Linked DNA regions of Homo sapiens: region 1 is linked to region 2. The links are contacts of gene promoters, found by promoter capture Hi-C in human tissues and cell types (Jung and others, 2019). All regions are on one chromosome and are shown on one strand. Each heading gives the region's core, a stretch centred on a gene start or on the middle of the fragment in contact. The rest is flanking DNA. Distances are from core to core; before and after follow the strand shown. Region 1 has its middle 11 kb from the start of SMO. Region 2 holds the start of IRF5 (interferon regulatory factor 5).

What was found. The method cuts DNA at HindIII sites, captures the fragments that hold promoters and counts their contacts. A contact is called where the count stands out against the background at its distance.
Region 1: a fragment that was not itself captured here is called in contact with the fragment with the promoter of IRF5 in region 2 in 1 of the 25 tissues and cell types used here (lymphoblastoid cells).

What each region holds. Positions count from the first base shown.
Region 1 is chr7:129,174,381-129,181,226 of GRCh38, reverse strand. No RefSeq gene overlaps it. Among named protein-coding and RNA genes, the nearest start is that of SMO, 11 kb to the left of the region's middle. The HindIII fragment of the contact is 6,954 bases long and covers 1,437-6,846 here.
Region 2 is chr7:128,936,067-128,942,865 of GRCh38, reverse strand. It overlaps IRF5 (interferon regulatory factor 5), which reads right to left and starts at 4,939. Exons shown (of 9, transcript NM_001098629.3): 1 at 4,817-4,939; 2 at 590-795. The coding sequence starts at 784. RefSeq lists enhancers at 2,083-2,132, 2,243-2,472, 3,963-4,032, 4,066-4,649, 6,317-6,611 and a silencer at 4,313-5,072. The HindIII fragment of the contact is 4,364 bases long and covers 4,761-6,799 here.

The DNA.
Region 1 (6,846 bases), core at 3,664-6,163, 240 kb before region 2:
GTGTGATTCCACTGATTTCAGGTGCCCAGAACAGGCAAATTCATAGAAATAGAAAATAATAGAAGTTTCCAGGGGCTGGGGAAAGTGGTAAAAGGGAGTCTATTGTTTAACAGGTACAGAGTTTTTGTTGAGGATGATGAAAGAGTTTTGGCTATAGATGGTGATGGTTATGCAACATCATGAATATATTTAATGCCACTGAACTGTAAATTTACAAATACTTAAAATAATAAATATGGACGCCAGGCACGGTGGCTCATGCCTGTAATCCCAGCACTTTGGGAGGCCAAGGTGGGTGGATCATCTGAGGTCAGAGGTTTGAAACCAGCCTGGCCAATGTGGTCAAACCCCATATCTACTAAAAATACAAAAATTAGCCAGGCATGGTGGCATGTGCCTGTAGTCCCAGCCACTTGGAAGGCTGAGGCAGAAGAATCACTTGAACTCAGGAGGCAGAGGTTACAGTGAGCCGAGACAGAGCAAGACTCTGCCTCAAAAAATAGTAACAATAATAAATATTATGTTAGATATACTTTACTACAATTTTTTAAGAAAGAAAAAAGGGAAAAAACAAGTGTATTTTTACTTAGCTGTAAGGAGTCTAATGAAGATTAGTGCGAAGTAACATGGAAAAGCTTGGTTCTTACGTGCTTAAGAACTACTGGTTTCACTTACCTTTTCTTTCTTCTCCAACATCCATCTTATGGTACCATCTCAGTGGTTTCTGGAATTCCAACTAGTTGCCAACATTGTAGAAATGTGGCTGGTTTGGGAAAGGTAATCTTATCCCATACCAGTCTGTGACTGCAAACTGAGATATTAGGTTTCAGGTCTTTTCTGGGTAGTGACAGTTCTTTTTTTTTTTTTTTTTCAGATGGGGTCATATATTGCCTAGTCTGCTCTCAAGCTCTTTGGCTCAAATGATACCCCCTCACCACCTCAACCTTCAAAATTGCTGGGTCTACAGGTGCAAGGTCACTGTGCTGGCTGACAGTTCTGTTTTCATACTGAAGAATGTAGTTCTCTTCTCAGTAAATGGCACCACTGTTCACCCAGCTGCACGGGCCAAGATCCTTGGAGCCATATATGCCTCTTCTCTTTCTCTAACATCTCACACCGAGTCATCAGCAAATCCTGACAGCTACACCTTCAAAATATATCTAGACTCCAATTACTCCTTGTCCCCTTCACACTGCCACCCTCTTCTGAGCTACAGTCACTTGTCCTCTGGGCCACTCCAAGAGCTAACAGCTTTCCTGTTTCCCCTTACCCTCCTACAACCAATTCTGCATTCAGGCGCCAGGGTCATCCTTCTAAAATATGTCTGACTATATCGTTCTTGTGTTCAACACTCTGATGGCATTTCATCACACTTAGAGTAAAATTTCAATTTCTCATCAGGACTTCACCAACGTCCCGCTAACCCCTGGCAACCTCCTGGATCTCATTTGCTCACACCACCTTGAACATGCTGTCCTTTTTACTGATTAATGGGTACAGTTTTTGCTGTGTGTCCTTACACACACCAAGCAAGCACTTGCCTCAGGATCTTGGCACTCAGGCTTATTCTTATGTTCTCATTTAGGTCCATTCAAATACCCTTTCTCAAGAAGGCATTCCTAACAAACTGCTCCAAAGAAAATGAAATACTTGACTGGGCACAATGGCTCATGCCTGTAATCTCAGCACTTTGGGAGGCCGAGGTGGGTGGATAACCTGAGGTCAGGAGTGCAAGACCAGCCTGGCTAACATGGTAAAACCCCATCTCTACAAAAATACAAAAATTAGCTGGGCATGATAGCAGGTGCCTGTAATCCCAGCTACTGGGGAGGCTGAGGTAGGAGAATCACTTGGACCCAGGAGGCAGAGGTTGCAGTGAGCCGAGATCATGCCATTGCACTCCAGCCTGGGCAAAAGAGTGAAACTTGTCTCAAAAAAAAAAAAAAAAGAAAGAAAGAAAGAAAGAAAGAAAAAAAAATGAAATACTTAAGTACAAATCTAACAAAATTTATAAAGAATCTATATGATGAAAATTATAAAATGGGGATGAAAGAAATCAAAGGCAACCTAAATCCTTGGAGAGGCATACTATGTTCATGAATCAAAAGATCAAACATAGCAAAGATGTCACTTTCCCCTAGGTTGATTCCCTAAGCCTCTAGGTTTAACAAAATTCCTATCAAAATCTCAAGTTTTGAGAAAGAAAGAAAACAAGTTTCTCTGTAGACATAGACAAGCTTATTCCAAAACTAATATGGAAAGTGAAAGGCCTTGCTCAATTTTTGACAAAGATTAAAGTGGGAGGAATCGCTGGCTGATATTAAGGCTGACTATATAGTTACAGCAATCAAGACAATGTGGTACTGGTAGAAAGATAGACACATAGATCAATGTAGCAGAATAGAGAACCCAGAAATATGCCCACATATATGGCCAATTAGTTTTTGACAAAGCAGCAAAAGCAGTTCAATGGTGGAGGAGAACTTTTTCAATAAATGGTGCTAGAGCAATTACATATCCATATGCAAAAAAATAAAAATAAAATAAAACTCTATGTAAACCTCACACACCTTAAACAAAAATTAACTCAAAACAAATCATGCACTTAAATGTAAATATAAAACTTCTAAAAAACACATAGAAAATCTTCAGGACTCATACCAGGCAAAGAGTTCTTAGACTTGATACCAAAAGCACAACCCAGAGCCAGGCACAGTGATGCACACCTGTAGTCCCAGCTACCAGAAGGCTGAAGCAGGAGGATTACTTGAGCTCAGGAGTTCAAGGCTGCAGTGCTCCATTATTGCAGCTGTGAACAGCCACTGCACTCCAGCCTGGGCAACATAGACCTTATCTCTAAAGAAGTTAAATAAAAGTAAAATAAAAAATAAAAAGCAAAACCGGAAGAGGAAAAATTGACAAATTGTATCTCATCAGAATCTGAAACTTTTGCTCTGCAAAAGACACTGTTAAAAGAATAAAAAGACAAATTAAATACTGGGAGAAGATATTTGTAAATTGCATGTCCAAAAAAAGCCTTGTATCTAGAACACGCAAAGAACTTGAAAACAGTACTTAAAAAAACAAACAATCCAATTAGAAAACGGGAAAAAGACACGCACAGGCATTTTACCAAAGAGAATATATAGGTGGCAAATAGACCCATGAAAAGATGTTCAGTATCATTAGCCATTAGAGAAATGCAAATTAAACCATAATGAGATATTACCACATGCTGATCAAAATGACTAAAATAAAAAATTGTGGGCCAGGTGCGGTGGCTCATGCCTGTAATCCCAGCACTTTGGGAGGCCAAGGCGGGCAGATCACAAGGCCAGGAGATCGATCGAGACCATCCTGGCTAACACGGTGAAACCCCGTCTCTACTGAAAATACAAAAAATTAGCTGGGCATTGTGGCACATGCCTGCAGTCCCAGCTACTCAGGAGGCTGAGGCAGGAGAATCACTTGAACCCAGGAGGCGGAGGTTGCAATGAGCCGAGATCACACCACTGCAGTCCAGCCTAAGCGACAGAGTGAGACTGTGTCTAAAAAAAAAAAAAAAAAAAAGTAGTGATGAACACCAAATGCTGGCAATGCTGCGGAGAAACTGAGTCATTCGTATAGTGCTGGGGAACATAAAATGATAGAGCCACTCTGGAAAACAATTTGTCAGTTTCTGGAAAAAACATATATACCATACGACCCAGCAGTCACATTCCTGGGCATCTCTCCAAGAGAAATGAAGGCTTATTTTCACGCAGGAACTTGTACACAAATGGTCGTGGCAGTTTTATTTGTAATAGCTCAAAACTGGAAACCAACCAAATGTCCTTTAATGGGTGAGTGGTTAAACAAACTGTAGTTTATCCATACCATGGAATAATACTCAGAAATAGAAAAGAACAAACTATTGATACACGCAACAACTCGGATGGCGCTCAAAGAAATTATGCTGAGTGAAAAAAGCCAGTCTCAAAAGGATAACTACTGCATGATTCCATTTCTGTAACATTCATGAAATAACATAATTATAGGGGTGGAGAACAGATTGGTGGTTGCCGGAGGTTAGTGACGGTGGGGAGGAATGGGTGTGGCTATGAAGGGGTAACACCAATGTGTCTTGTGATGATGGCACAGTTGAGCATTTTTTTGTAGCAGTTTCATGGAGATGTAATTCACATATACTCCAGTTGAGTATACCTTGATTGTAGTGGTGATTACACAAAACTACATGTGATAAAATTACATAGAGCCATGCACACATATGCAAATAAGTGCATGTATGATTACTGAAATCCAAATAAGTTCTATACATTGTAGCAGTGTCAATTCCTTGGTTCTGATAATGTATCATACTGTAATTGTAGAAGATGTTAACACTGGGTGAGGTTGGGAAAAAGAGCATGGGACTTCCCTTGCATTTCTTTGCAACCTTCTGTGAGTCTGTAATTATTTAACAACAAAAAAAAAATTAAACTTTTTTAAAAAAGTGCCTTGTAGTCCCAGCACCTCATGAAGCTGAGGCAGGAGGAGTGCTTGAGCCCAGGAGTTTGAAGTCAGCCTAAGAAACACAGCAAGACCAAGACCATGTCTCTAAAAAAAACAAAAAACAAAAAATGTCTCATAAAAAATTGCACTCCCTCCATCACTCTCTATCCTCTCAACTTGCTTTATTTTTCTTCATTGTCTATATCTTCATAGCCTGTATCTGACTTTATAGTATATGTAATGGATAAGCTATAACATATATTTGCATACATCTGTCTCCTCCAGTAGAATGTAAACTTAGGAGGGGCAAGCATTTGTTATGTTCTCTCCCTGGTGCTAGAATGGCACCTGGCACACTGCATTTGTTGAGTGAATGTGTGGGTGTACCTGGCTTCCTACAGGTGTCTATTTCATTTATTGTATCTATACAAAAATTAACCTTATAGCCCCCTGCCAGAAACATTACTTTTATTAAGGTATTCACCCCAGACTCTCAGTTCAGAGGAGATTTCACATTTCTTTCTCTTTCTTTCTTTCTCTTTCTTTCCTTCCTTCTTTCCCTTTTCCCTCCCCTCCCCTCCCCTCCCCTCCTCTCCGCTCCCCTTCCCTCCCCTCCTCTCCTCTCACCTTCCCTTCCCTCTTTCCTTCCTTTTTTTTTTTTTTTTTTTTTTTGATAGGGTCTTCCTCTGCCACCCAGACTGGAGTGCAGTGGTGCAACCATGGGTCACTGCAGCCTCAACCTCCTGGGCTCAAGGAATTCTTTTGCCTCAGCCTCTTCAGTAGCTGGGACTACAGGTGCTTGCCACTAGGCTCACCTAATTTTTAAAACTTTTTTGCAGAAAGGGGGTCTTCCTATATTACCCAGGCTAGTCTCAAACTCCTGGGCTCAAGTCATCCTCCCGTCTTTGCTCCCTAAAGTGCTGGGATTATAGGTGTGAGCCACTGTGTCTGGCCACCACATTTTTTCAAATAGCCTTTTTCTGGTAATTACATTTTCATAAAGGCATTTTTTTTTTCTTTTTTTTGGAGACAGACTGTCTCTGACGCCCAGGCTGGAGTGCAGTAGCACACAAACATGGCTCACTACAGCCTCCTTGACCTCCTGGGCTCAAGTGGTCCTTCCACCTCAGCCTCCCATCTAGCTGGGACCACAGGTACATACCATCGTGCCTGGCTAAATTTTTTATTTTTTTCTTGTAGAGATGGGGTCTCCCTGTGTTGCCCAGGCTAGTCTTGAACTCTCAGGCTCAAGTGACCCTCCAACTTCAGCCTCCCAAATTGCTGGGATTATAGGTATGACCCACCATGCCCAGCTGTAAATGAAATTCTTTAGTGGGAAATACATATTTCACCCAATTCTGTTTATTCTTCCCTGGCTCCAATGAGGCCTTTGGGAGTATGTACTCATTTGAAGTCTTTCTGGGAGAGTTAAAACGTCTGCTATGAGAAGGCAGCTAAATAAAGGTCCTTGAATGTCACTGAATTGACCCTATGTTCCTCAAAAAGAGCTTCAGCCTGAATTGTTGAAATTAAGCAATTTTGTAAGAAAAAGAAACAGTACCAGTGGCTCACACCTGTAATCCCAGCACTTTGGGAGGCCGAGGCAGGCAGAACACAAGGTCAAGAGATTGAGACCATCCTGGCCAACATGGTGAAATCCCGTCTCTACTAAAAATACAAAAATTAGTTGGGCGTGGTGGCATGTTCCTGTAGTCCCAGCTACTTGGGAGGCTGAGGCAGGAGAATCACTTGAACCCAGGAGGCAGAGGTTGCGTAAGTGGAGATTGTGCCACTGCACTCCAGCCTGGTGACAGAGTGAGACTCCGTCTCAAAAAAAAGAAAAAGAAACAGTACAAAGAAATGCTTGGTCATCTATCTTACTACAAATGGTCATAATATAGTCTATTGTGCATCTGTGGTTGGCAAAATAATATGCCCTCAAGATATCCATATCCTAATCCCCAGGACCTGTGAATATATTACCTCATATGGCAAAAGGGACTTTGCAAATGGTGTGATTAAGGTTACATTCCTCGAGATGGGGAAAGTATCTTAGATTATGCAGATGGGCCCAACCTAATCACAGGAGTGAAGAATCTTTCCTGGCCGCAGAGAGACAGTAGTGTGAGAAGTACCTGCCCTGCCCTTGCAGGCTTGGAAGATGGAGGATGGGGCCGCCAACCAAGGAAAGCAGGTAGCCTCAAGAAGGAGGAAAAGACAAAGAAATGTATTGTCCCTGGAATCTCCAGCAAGGAATGCAACCCTGCTGATGCCTTGGTTTTAACCCAGTGAGACTCATAGCACACTTCTGACCAACAGAACGTAAGATAAAAAATTTGTGTTGCTTTTTTTTTT
Region 2 (6,799 bases), core at 3,690-6,189:
CTGATCTGATCACTGTGCTTATCAAATCACCACTGTGTACCCCATAAATATATACTAATTTAAAAATAAAATTTTTAGAAAGATGATGATCGTTGGCTTCCTTTAGCATATGCGTGCACTGAACAAGTCCTCATGAGTAATAGGAGTGAGACGAGCAAAGGGTGAGTAGGACGAGTTATGGGAAGGCCTTCTGGGGACCCTCAGTCCCCACGATGCTCTAGGGTGCAGGTTAGAAAAGATGTGCCCTAGGCCAGGCGTGGTGGCTCATGCCTGTAATCCCAGCTACTCAGGAGGCTGAGGCAGGAGAATTGCTTGAACCCAGGAGGCAGAGGTTGCAGTGAGCTGAGATCGTGCCACTGCACTCCAGCCTGGGCTACAGAGCGAGACTCTGTCTTAAAAAAAAAAAAAAAGGAAAAAGGTGTACCCTGTGTCTACGTCTGCATCCCCTTAGTCCGGGCCCGGCATCAGCAGCAGCATGGTAGCTGGGCGGGTGGCCAGCCTCGAGGAGCTGCCTGTGTGCGTTATGTGCGCTCCTCTTCTGGGGACAGGGTGCCCTGGAGGTCCAGCCAACCTCCTCCCCGGGGCTTACCTTGAAGATGGTGTTATCTCCGTCCTGGCTGGGACCATGCCTTGTGGCATGCCTCCAGGGGATGCAGAATAATTTCTTTTCCCCGTTGACCCATTGAAGCCCTGGGTACTGGCAGCTGTTCACCTGGGCCACCAGCCAGGGCTTCAGCCGCACGCGGCGGGGTGGGGTGGGAGCCACTGGGATGGACTGGTTCATGGCAGAGGGGTCTGCAGGAGAAAGCCAGAGGGGAGCCTCAGCAGGTCTGCAGGTGGATGGGGACAGGGTACTCAGAGGTCAAGCTATGGACCACAAAGGATGGTCTCTCCAGTCCATCTAGGTATTTAAGGCCAATTCTCTTTTCCAAGCATCAGCTTTCTTGTCTAGTGTCATGGAATTTTGTGTTTGGAGGAAGGGAAGGAGAGTTACGAGTTAGTGAATGCTGCGGGCGCGGCCCCAGGTGCCCTTTACCGGGCAGAGGCATCCATTCTCCAACTGCTAACAGCAGCAAGCAGCCCGTTGGCCAGAGAACCGCCTTCCACTACTCACACCACAGGTTAGGCCCACCCCTTGCTCTTGGGGGGCAGCCCACAGCCAGTGACTGCCTGACACCAAAAGCCCGGCTGTCTTGTCTCAAGCTGGCTACCTGGGACAGCGAGCGCTCTGTGGGATCAGCCCGAAGACAGCCTCCTGCTCAGTCTACACCCCTAGTTCGATTCTTCCCTGCCCAAGTTTTCTCACCCTCCATCCCCTGAGAGTTCCCTCCGGAGATGCCCTCAACAAGAATCTCATCTGGAGCTCCCAAGGACACCTGCCCTCAGAGGAAAGCAGTTTCTCAATATCTTTAGAGAAATCCCATCAACCAACTCAACCCACCTCCAATGACAGCAGGCACCAAACAGATGTTACCTCTCTAGGGCCATTCATCTAGGTTCTTGGTCCTCCCCCTTCTCCTCCCACTGGACACGCATTCGGGTAGCACTTAGGAAGGCCCTAACGCCTGCCGGAGCCTGTTAGGAAGGCTACAGGAAACAGAAGCCACAGCTCTAACTGCTACCTACCCAGGGGCACGAGCCCCGCCTCCCAGGCCACAGCTTCACTGCCTCCCTGGAGTCAGGCCAGAGGGACCCTGCCTCCTCCCCTTCACCTGCCCAACTCCCTCTCCAGCCCAGAACCGGAAACTCTCCACAGTCCTGAGTCCCCTTCTGTCCCTCTCCTCCCCTTACCCATGCCCTTGGCCCTTCACTTGAGACCCCTGGGTGGAAGACAGAAAGGACTGGGTCATTACACAGCACAGCCCATCAGAAGTGAATGTGTCGGTCAGCAAGTAAGGAGCAAACGTTCGAGCTGAACTCCCTGTGTCTGGGCCTGCTTTGGCCTTGCAGCATGGAGCCTCAGTTTCCCCTGAAATTCCCTGCCCAGTACCTTTTGGGGTTGCACCTGCCTAGTGCCGCCTCTGAGCTGCTACTGTCTCACATTGCAGGCCTCCCTCAGAGCCCAGCTCTGCTGCCACCAACCCAGGAGAGGTAAGGCCGGCCCTTGCCTGGCCCAGGGGCTGGGACGGGGAGGTGTTCAGAACGCTCCAGCCCTGCCCTGGCCTCAGAACACGCGGGCTCAGTTCCGCTTTCTGCCCCAGCCTCCACCCGGCCCCAGGGGAAACGAAAGTGGCTAGACCGGGACAACTCAGAAACCAGACTCACTGTGGGCTGAGGGAGGGAGCCGAGTGGGTCCCCCAGACCAAATTTCCAACCTCCCACCCAGAGCTGTTCCCCGCACCCCAAACTTGCAGACAGTTTTTGTGCATTTAGTGTGGTTTATAACATGGGTGTGCACCCACCCATAGTTGTATCTGTAGACCCCTGAGAGGCCTTGGCCCTAGAATAGAGGGGTGCCAGTCACCAGCGGCACACAATTCTGGCCGAGCAAGGGTGGACAGAGGAAGCTCTGTCTGCACAGAATCGGGGAGAGCTTCCCTAATGACCCCCTGGGCTGAGGCCGTGCAGGCGCTGGTGCCGTTGGGGAGCTCAGAGGGTCCGGCTGCCTGCCCCCTACTGTCAGTCCAGCAGTCTGGCCCTGCCCAACACGGCTGTTTAATACAGAGCAAGGTTTTGAAATGATAACTCCGACCTCAGTGTCAGAGGGCCGCGTCCATACAGGCAGCTTAGGGAGGGGTGTGGAGGAGGAGCTCCCGTGACAAGCCCGGCTGTGATGAGCGAGAGTCTGTCCACCATGCCACAGAAGGGACTCAGCCTCAAGGCTTTTGCCTGCAGCTAGGTCCACACGAGCTCTAACCCGAACAGCATCCATCCTCCTAGAAGCTCCCTTCTGCCCAGAAAAGGGCTAGGTCTAATTCAGACCACCCCAATCAAGGCCCATGACTTTGGAAGTTCGGTGTCAGAACAGGTCTGCCTGCCAGGCTCCGGAGTCTCTGGGTGAAATGTATGGAGCCCTAGACCTAAGTCAATGGACCTGAGCCCCGGAAGGTGGGGAAATCCAACAGCCTGAGGAAGTCCCTACAATTGTGTGAGGCAGCGAAGCATCCAGTGGGCAGCCCTAGAGGACCTGCTGAGGTGGGGTAAGCCCACAGCTCACCCCAGGGCCATGCTGGAGTCCCAGGAGACAGTGCCCCCACCACCACCCAGGAGCTGCAATTCATGGGCACCAGGGACCCACTAGGGGAGGAAGTGCCACAGCAGTCCTAGTAAGAGTGGCCAGACAGCAGGCGCCCTGCTGCTCCCAGGGTTGGTCTGGGTCACATGTCTCCTTGCAAACCCACACCCAGCTCAGGGAGAGGACAAGGGGTTCCCTGTACAGGCCCTGACCCCCAAATCCCACCCCTCCGGGTCAGCTGCCCACACCCTGGGCCCTGCTGCCCACCTGGTCCAGACAGGCTGAGGCTCTGGGGCAAAAGGTGCCCAGAAAGAAGCTTCTTTCAGCTTCCTCCCAGGGTCAGGGTAGGGGAAGACCAGGGTACAGGGGAAAAACCCCAAAGTAGGGCCTTTAGATAAAAAGGGGTGATTTCCCAGTGCTTCCCTTGACTCTTGGAACCCCTCAGCCCCAGCACCCCAGGCCCCATAACTACTGGGGGTGGGGGCAGGAAGGGGAGGTCTTGCCAGAGGGCCTCCTGAGGGGCTACAGTTTCCTACATCGATACAGCCGAGCCCTCTCTGGTTCTGGTCACTTATCCCCATTCTGGGCCCTCGAGGAGCCCAGGCCCAGCCCAGTCCTCCGCCCCTGCTCCCCCCTCCCCTCCGCCCCCACCCCTCCCGCGTGCTCCGCTGGGGCACACCCCCTGGGCCAGCCCGCGGAGCCACCCCCACCTCCAGAGTCGGCCTCTGGACCTCTCCTCCTGCTGCTGGAGGAGCAGCACCCCGGTCCTCGCCCTGCTGTGTTCAGCGTGGCCGCGAGGCTGGGAAAGTCCCCCACTCCAGCCTCTGCTCCCAGGTACCCGCTCCCGCCCCTCCCGGGGTCCGGAGACAACCATCTCCCCACGCATCCCGGCCATGCTAGCCTCACTTTTCCTCCACGTTTAGCCTCTTCATTGTTGCCTTCTTAAGTTCTGGGACAGGACCTGAGGAAACCAGCCCAGGAACTATTGCGCCCCATCCTTTTCCGCTGCTCGGGGGACGAGAGTCTGCCATTCCCGGCCGCGAGCCCAGGGACGCAGCCTCTACCTGACACCATCTTCCCCCAAACTCTTGCACAGTTCCTGCCATTGGCCTGAAGATCCCGGGGGATGAACGCTTTAACCTCAACCTCTTTTCCGAAAGGGTGAGGGTGGCCCGGTAAGAGCAAGGGCGAGTGCATCGAAAGTAAGGATCGGGCCTCGCTCCTCTGTGGTCCAAGCCAGCCTCCAGCGGGGCTCCCGGGAACCCCCATTCTGGGCGATGGCGAGGGGGAGGGAGAGCAGCAGAGCCGGCGCCCCCCGCAGCGCTGCCCACTCCGCCGCCTGGGTCACTGGGCTCCCCGGGCGCCAGCACCCCAAACCGATCGGGGCGTGGGAGGCGCTTTGGAAGTCCCAGGCCGGCCGGGCGCACCCTGCTGTAGGCACCCACCCGAGCTCGCTTTCCAGGCGCAGCTGGACGCGGACCCCGCCCTACTCCAGTCTTCATCCCGCCGCCCGCAGGTGCCTGGGGGGCGCGGGGCCCAGTCTAGGCCTAGACTTGGGGGCAGTAGCCGGCACCGCTCCCGCCACCCTCGGGGCGCGCCGGGCGCGGACGCAGAGAGGAGAGCGCGGCGGCCGGGACCCACCTGTCTGCGGTGCGCCTGCGTGGCTGCGCCAGGGAGCACCGGCCGGGCGGCGGGACCAAGCTGAGCTCTGCCCAGGCTGCGCCTCCCGCCGGTCCGCCAACCTGCCGGGCACTTCCGCGTCTTGCCGCCCCCGCCCCTGGGCAGCTGCTGCTGAGCTCCGGGCGCGGGCAGTGCCCCGCCCCGCCCCGCGAATCCACTCCGGGCCCCGCACTGACCTGGCAACTGCAGATCCGGGCTGAGCCTCGGGCCAGGCCCAGGGCCTCCAGGGAGATGCCAGACGGCGCGGTGCCCTAGACTGGCCACTGGCTCTTTTGGCAATCTGGAATGGCAAAACTGTCATTTGACAACCCCGTACCTCCCGCTGCAGTGCTCAGTTGGGCCCTGGGAGAGGGTGGGGTGCTTCCCCACTCTGGTCCTCCGGGGCTGCACACAAATGAGGGCGCAGTGTGGCCGACCCACAGCTCCAGGCCCTCCTCTCGCCTGCCTACACCCCTGGCGAGGGTGGCTCTCGCCCTAGAACACAGTCGCTGCCCCCAGGATCCAGACACCCCTTCCAGATGTGCTTGCAGGCGGGAATCCTCTAGTCACTCTGTGCCTTTCTCATCCTCAAACCCTGCACCTGTCTCGCCCCAGCTCCCCTAAGTCGCCTTCCAGTCATCCCAGGGGCAGCGGCGTGGTCGCCTGTCCCACCTCCTCTCACTACTACCTTGACCGTCGACCTGTGGTTCTGAACCGTTTTCGATTCCATAAAGAACCTCACCCCAGAACCTCCACCTTCACACACCTCCTGTTCCTTCTCATGGAATGTTCTTCGCTTGGTAACTCTTGCTCTTCAAAATTTCTGTTTCTGAAATTTTCAGCATCGCCTTCTCTGGAAAGTCTGCCTTGACTTCCCCTCCCAGGTGGGGTTCCAGGGTGCAAATAGCTTCCTGGTTGATTTTGCTTATGATTTTGTTATGGATTGCCAGGGGTTTGGTCCAGGTCTGGCTGCTCACCGCACAGAAAGCCTATCACTGAGACAGCGAGTATTGCCAGGGAAGACTTTATTCCGGTGACATCAGCCAGTGAGCTGTTGAGAGGGGAGACAAACCTCCAATCCATCCCTCCCCTTGACTAAAGTTAGGGGCTTATATAGCAGGGAAGGAAAACAGGAGGGACAAGGAAGAGGAATTGGTCAACAGGCAGCAGGTGTACTGATGTAAGTGTCTCAAGCTTCAGTTCTATGAGCATCTGGCTTTTTGGAAAATTCAGCGGGTTTCAATTTTGATGTCTGATTTCCACTCGAATCAGCTTACTCAGGAACCTCCCTCCTGTCTTTTCATTGTTCATTTTATTTTATTTTATTTTTTGATATGGAGTCTTGCTCTGTCACCCGGGCTGGAGTGCAGCAGTGCGATCTCAGCTCACTGCAACCTCTGCCTCCCCAGTTCAAGCGATTCTCCTGCCTCAGCCTCCCAAGTAGAGACGGGGTTTCACCATGTTGGCCAGGCTGGTCTCGAGCTCCTGACCTCAGGCGATCCACCCGCCTTGGCCTCCCAAAGTGCTGGGATTACAGGCGGGAGCCACTGCGCCAAGCAGAGCCTTGTATTTTTAACAAATAAAGTAGTATTTGTTGATGAATCAGAACTTTGACCTTCCCTCCCCTCCCTTCTCCTGGGTTGAACTTTACCTTTAACAAGTTAAAAAAAGACACTCATGTGTTAACGTTTTTTTTTTTTCTCTTCTGTATCTCTCCCTCTTTCCTGACCTTTGAAGCCCTAATATGAAGTCGAAATATCATTATATATAAGTATTTTATTATTTGTATCTGCTGAGTATTTCATTATTTCATATTTTTAAAATTTAAAGTATGGATGGGGAAAATGTGAATGGGTAGATCGTTTTATATTTCTTTCTTTAAAAATGAAATTGCTAGGCCAGGCACGGTGGCTCACATTTGTAATCCCAACACTTTGAGAGGCTAAGGCAGGCAGATCACTTGAG